2 separate regions of the Homo sapiens genome follow, and region 2 is linked to region 1. The links are contacts of gene promoters, found by promoter capture Hi-C in human tissues and cell types (Jung and others, 2019). All regions are on one chromosome and are shown on one strand. Each heading gives the region's core, a stretch centred on a gene start or on the middle of the fragment in contact. The rest is flanking DNA. Distances are from core to core; before and after follow the strand shown. Region 1 holds the start of UBR7 (ubiquitin protein ligase E3 component n-recognin 7). Region 2 overlaps BTBD7 (BTB domain containing 7).

Region 1 (2,925 bases), core at 375-2,874:
GTTGCAGTGAGCAGAGATCATGACATTGCACTCCAGCCTGGGTGGCAAGAGTGAAATTCCATCTCAAAAAGAAAAAAAAAGTGAATATGTATAAGAGGTATAGTTACCTTCCTCTAGGAAGGAGGAAGATAGATAAGGAGGCTTCCGGGATGCCAGTAAGGTTCTATTTCTTTTTCTTTCTTTTTTTTTTAAAGTTCTATTCCAATAAGCCTTTTGCACTCCTAATGTTCTATTTGTTGATCTGGGTTGTGGGAACACGCACACTTTCCTTTCAAGCTGTGTACATGATTTGTGCAAATTTCCGTATTTTTTTTTTTACCACAAAGAAAATATTAAGGAATCCATTTTATAAAGGTAACTACACTTCAAAAATAGTTTACATATAGACATAACTTTTTTCTTTTTTTTTTTTTTAAGTAAAGCAGGGGAAAAATTGTTTTAGTGGTGACCAAAGGTTTTAAAATACCTGGGGCTATGTCTGGATACCAGGTTTATTCAACAATCTAGCACTTTGCAGTGTAAACTAACCTTGGTCAACAACGAGAACTGGTATTATGATCTCAGTTCATACCACATAATGAATACAAGTCTCTCCCCTCATCTCCCCAGTGTTCCAATCCACCCCTCTTCCTAGGTAACCCTTCTTCCTACCAATTCTCATCCTTTGTCAGTCTTCTTCCTACCCATCCTTTTCCATTTTTGTACCTCGAAGTGTAGGGTGAGTCACTAAACACCACATCACACCCCCTCAAACACTTGCTCACTCACAACGTCTTCCAAATGCCAAACAGATCCTTTTCTCCTCTCTCCCCTCCCTTGCCAGAGCCACTTGCTGTTCTGTTTCCGGTCTATTTCCAGGGGAGGGGGGCAGACTGCAGATAGACATGGGTACTTGCTTCATTTTGCCAAAAAAAGAAAGAAAGAAAAAGTACTAGCTAGCACTTGTCCAACTAAATTGCAGAGGAACTAGCTGTCAAGGAGCTCACCGCAAATCCCTATGGATTTGAAAATCTCTTTAACCTGACTCTCCCATTCGGTCCCTAATAAATAAATAAATAAATAATCTTAGGATGGGAAAATCAGGGACAAAGATGTCTGGATCTGAGAGGTCGCGGGGTGGTTTCGTGAAAAGCAGTGGTGCACCAAGAAGAGGCTGGAGAGGACGGACAGAGCAGCTGCTCCAGGGCCCTTCCTGGCGGGCCGGACAGAGTTGGAGACAGGGGAGAGGGGGGCCCCTGCTGGACACAGGCTGAAGGGGGCCCAGGAGGTTGGGGTTAAAAGGGAAGGGTGAGCTTGGGGTGAGGAAGCGGCAGACTAACGGCGGCCCCGGACCACCACTGGGGAGACGACTGCGGCAAGGCGGGAATAGGGACAGCCGGGCCGGGAAGGGGAGGTTCGGCGGGAGCCGGGGGAGAGGAGGCCCGGGCCGCGCGCCCACCTGAGAGTAGGAGCACTTCTCGGAGTCGCTGCCGCCCAGGACAGCGCACGCCTCATTCTCCAGCTCCTCGTCCTCCTCAAGGACGTCGACCAACGATACCACGGGCTCCAGCTCCGACTGCCGCCCAGCGGCGCCCTCGGCTCCGGCCATCCTCAACTGTCAGCCGAACAGCGGCTCGGCCCCGGCGGAGGCGGGAAAAGCGGCCGTGAGGGGCGTAGCCGGAGGAGGTGGGGCCCGAGTGCCAGGAACCAATGACAAGGAAAAAAAGCGAAGGAAGGGGGAGGAGCGACTTCCGACAAACGGATGTCACTCCTCTCCCTTCTCCCGCCTGCGCCGGACGCGGGCTGATTTCCGCCTCCGGGTGGCGCTTCCCGGTGTCGTGTTCTGGAAGCTTAGCGGTCACCATGGAGCTGCTGGGAGAGTACGTCGGGCAGGAAGGGAAGCCGCAGAAGCTGCGGGTGTCCTGTGAGGCGCCGGGTGACGGCGACCCTTTCCAGGGCCTGTTGTCTGGCGTGGCCCAGATGAAGGACATGGTAACGGAATTATTCGACCCTCTGGTACAGGGGGAAGTGCAGCACCGGGTGGCGGCGGCTCCAGACGAGGACTTGGACGGTGAGCTCTGAGACGGTGCTGCAGTGACCGGAGGACGGGGCGGGCGCCCAGGGGAAATTGGCTTGGGGAGCCCGTGTAGAGTGGCAGACTTGGACAAAGTGAGCCTCGAGGAAAGAAGAATTGCATCTAAAAATTTTTGGCGGGCTAGGCGAAGTGGGGCTCACGCCTGTAATCCCAGCACTTTGGGAGGGCGAGGCAGGAGGATCACTTGAGGTCAGGAGTTCCAGAACAGCCAGGGCAACATATCGAGACCCCGTTTCTATTATTATTTTTAAAATAATTTAAAAAATAAAAATTGTTGGCATTTATCACTATATTTATTTGGGCTGCTTCTACTCAAGCGTTTCCACAACTCATCGCTATTTCGTTTATTTCACAAAAAAACGTGTCGAATGCCTACTATTATGTGCCAAACCCTGAGCTGAGCCCTGGAGGAAGAATGAGGTGAATGCGACTCAGTTCCTGCCCTTGTGAAACACAAGGGGACTAGACAGGCAGACACTCTTATTAAAAGTGGAAGTGGTCCGGGCTGGTGGCTCACGCCTGTAATCCCTGCACTTTGGGAGACCGAGGCAGGCAGATCACGAGGTCAGGAGTTCGAGACAAGCCTGGCCAATATGGTGAAACCCTGTCTCTACTAAAAATACAAAAATTAGCTGGGCGTGGTGGCATGCTCCTGTAGTCCCAGCTACTCTACTCGGGAGGCTGAGGCAGAAGAATCGCTTGAACCCTGGAGGCAGAGGGTGCAGTGAGCCGAGATCGCGCCACTGCACTCTATCGTGGGCGACAGAGCGAGACTCCGTCTCAAAAAAAAAGAAAAAAAAAGTGAAAGTGGTTCTGTGGTCCTCTGTAACTGTTGCAAACCCAGACACCCT
Region 2 (3,203 bases), core at 666-3,165, 98 kb before region 1:
ATAATAAAATACTTTAATAACCAAGTATCTTACTGATATATATGACAGTGATACATATATTATTAGGAGAACACTCAGACTCAGATCTCAAGAGAGGTTAGAGATCACCCATATTTTGCTGGGTGCTGTGCAGTAATGTGAAGTTATGCCAGAAATAACTTTGCGCCTCAAGAAATAAGCACCATTACTTCTTAAGACTCTCCATTTATCTTTTTAGAAACATTGATAAGATATTTGTAAATAATATCCTCATTTAAAAGTAAATGAATTATCTTGGGAGAATGCTGTATTGTAATACAAGGAATTTTACCTTTAGAAATTAGATATTATTAATAGTATTAGAAAACTTTTGTTTTTAGACTTCTTTATGTTCTGTTTGAATTGTTTCTTCCTTGATAACGTCTTTTTTTTTTTTTTTTTAAAGAGAGATGAGGTTGTTTTGTTGCCCAGGCTAGTCTGGAACTCCTGGCCTCAAGCAATCCTCCTTAGCCTCCCAAAGTGCTGGGATTATAGGCGTGAGCCACCGTGCCTGGCCTCTTTAATATGTCTTTCCCAGATTTCAAACCCATTACCTTTATCACCCTCAGTGGACCCATAAATTGCTTCTCCTATATGCTTCTTGGTTTACAGCATTGTAACCACCCAGTTATGCAAGGTAGAAACCTCAGTCATCGTTTCCTTCTTCCTCTCCACCATTCCCCTTACCAGTTTGGTGAGCATTCTTCACTATGTCTTCTATGATAAGGACCTCATATGTATTACTTAATTTTTTATTATAGATGTCTACTATGATTTGCTGTTCCCCACATTGCATGTGTTGGGAACTTAATCCCCAAATCTGTATGTCAGTTGAACGTAGGGCCTTTGGAAAGTAATTAGGATTAGATAAAATCATCAGGGTGGGGCCACCATAATGGGGCTGGTGGCTTTATAAGAGGAAGAGAGACCTGAGCTGACACGCATGTTCTTGCCCTCTTGCTATGTGGTGCCCTCAGCCATGTTAGGGCACAGCAAGAAGGCCCTCACCAGATATTGGGGTGGTCTTGGACCTCCCACCCTCCAGAACTGTAAGAAATAGATTTTTTTATATATTACCCAGTCTATGATATTCTGTTACGGCAACAGAAAACAGACTAAGACAAGCTTCTAAACAAATGGAAAATAGAGTTTTAAGATGCAGACTTTCATTGCCTTAACAGGGCCAAGAATATCTATTTCATTCTGACATACTTAAACTGTAATATCCTCTCCCAGTGTTTCTGCTACAAGTGGGTAGCACAGAACAAGCAATGGGATTAAGGAAAAATTACCATAGTTATAAGAAAGCCCTCTAATAATGCTTGTGAGAGTGAGAGTTTTGTCTGGTTTTCTACTTCTTGTTTTTCATAAGAGACCTTGTTGATGTCTCTTACAGAGAGGGTCTTTTATAGCTAAACGTTCTCAAAACTTGTTCATCATCACAACCACTAGTGCTTCTTTTACAAGGACCACTATATACAAGACTCTAAGTGTAGACTTCAGAAGAAACTTAGGAGGAACACATTTTTCACTTAACATGCCAACAAAGATTCTTTAAATAGCAAATATTCTGATGGGCAGGAGCTCATCAGAATGGAGTGACTAGCCAGTATTAAGCCATTATATATGACTTGTAACTTTTTCACTGAAAATTTAAAGTAATGGGTCCCCCACCCTCATATTTATTTAGACTCAGTCTCCGTAATGTGAAGAAAAATAGAATTTTACTATGTAATTACCTCAACTGCTAAGCCATTATTGTCTTCTTATTTATAAGAATTTGAATAATTCATAGGGCTAGTCACATGCCTATTCCTTTAATGATCTAACAGTTTGGAATTTGAACTGTCTTCATGAAGACTGCCCTGGATGAGGAAACCTTTGAGTTTCTGTTTTGTTCTGTGTTCTCTTCTGTCTGTGCAGCCATAGTCTCAGGCTTACTCTAGGGTTCACCCAGCATGTTTGCTTATCTCTCCAGCTCTACTAGTGGAACCCATGGTAACTTATCAATAAGAAGTATACCCTTGTATTTTAAACATTTGCTAAGTTGGTGTCAGAAAATCTGAATGTTTTGGCTTTGAATGGAATTTAGGAGAAATTGCATTTTTTCCCTTTAAATTCAGTTGATTTGAATGTATTCTCTGATGTCAGTTCTATTTCTCTCTGCAAGTCCTCTTTAAACTCAAATCTAGGCCGGGCACGGTGGCTCACGCCTGTAATCCCAACACTCTGGGAAGACGAGGCCGGCAGATCACCTGAGGTCAGGAGTTTGAGACCAGCCTGGCCAACATGGTGAAACCTCATCTCTACTAAAAATACAAAAATTAGCCAGGTGTAGGGATGCACGCCTGTAATCCCAGCTACTCGGGAGGCTGAGGCAGGAGAATCGCTCGAACCTGGATGGCAGAGGTTGCAGTGAGCCAAGATTGCGCCACTGCACTCCAGCCTGGGCGACAGCACGAGACTCCGTCTCAAAAATAAAAATAAATAAATAATAAACTCAAATCTAGACTCATTTTTATCACCATCTCTAAATCTAGAGTGAACCATCTTTCTGTACACTCTCAAGCCAACAATAAAAACAGTTGTCCCTGATTAGAACAATCATTTCCTTTATTCAATAAAATATTGTGTGCCGGGCTCAGTGCTAGTTTTCCATATCGTAAACACAGAGGCTCCAAATGGCAGGCCCCATCACCTTATGAGAGTTGATTGGGCAAGTTCTGCAGTCTGTCTTGCAGGGCCTCATAATAATTTTTCACCCTCTGCTTATAGGCTCTTTTTCCTGACTTTTGGGGAAGACTTTTCAGGCTCCTTCCAGAGCTACTTCAGTTTTGGGGGATTCTAGCTGCTAGAAGACATCAAAACTTTTGGGGATGTCCAGGCCAAGGCAGCTCCTGCACTGGCTGCTGTAGGCATCACTGCTCAGGCCCTCTGCCAAAGACCAGATAAGAGGAATAAGCGACTCCCATTGTCCTAGAGTCAGGCCTTCCTCTGGTGGGGGGTGGGGAGGCCGTTTCAGCCCTCTAATTCCCATTTTCCATCTGTTGCTTCAAGAGGATCTTCTTCTGAGGTTGTAGGTCAGGATGAAGCATTTGGAGTGTGAGCTCTGAGGGTAAAGGTGGCAGAGTAGGAGAGGCCCATTTGTGTCTTCACAGTGCAGCCACATTCATTCTTAACGCACC

The links. Contacts are between HindIII fragments. The study calls those that stand out against the background at their distance.
Region 2: a contact is called between a fragment that was not itself captured here and the fragment with the promoter of UBR7 in region 1, in 2 of the 25 tissues and cell types used here (hippocampus and liver).

What each region holds. Positions count from the first base shown.
Region 1 is chr14:93,205,955-93,208,879 of GRCh38, reverse strand. It overlaps UBR7 (ubiquitin protein ligase E3 component n-recognin 7), which reads right to left and starts at 1,624. Exons shown (of 11, transcript NM_175748.4): 1 at 1,439-1,624. The coding sequence starts at 1,588. GON7 (GON7 subunit of KEOPS complex) reads left to right here and starts at 1,815. Exons shown (of 2, transcript NM_032490.5): 1 at 1,815-2,050. The coding sequence starts at 1,843. RefSeq lists an enhancer at 1,719-2,578. The HindIII fragment of the contact is 21,573 bases long and covers 1-2,925 here.
Region 2 is chr14:93,303,658-93,306,860 of GRCh38, reverse strand. All of the region lies in intron 1 of BTBD7 (BTB domain containing 7), which reads left to right. Among named protein-coding and RNA genes, the nearest start is that of BTBD7, 28 kb to the left of the region's middle. The HindIII fragment of the contact is 5,621 bases long and covers 1-3,203 here.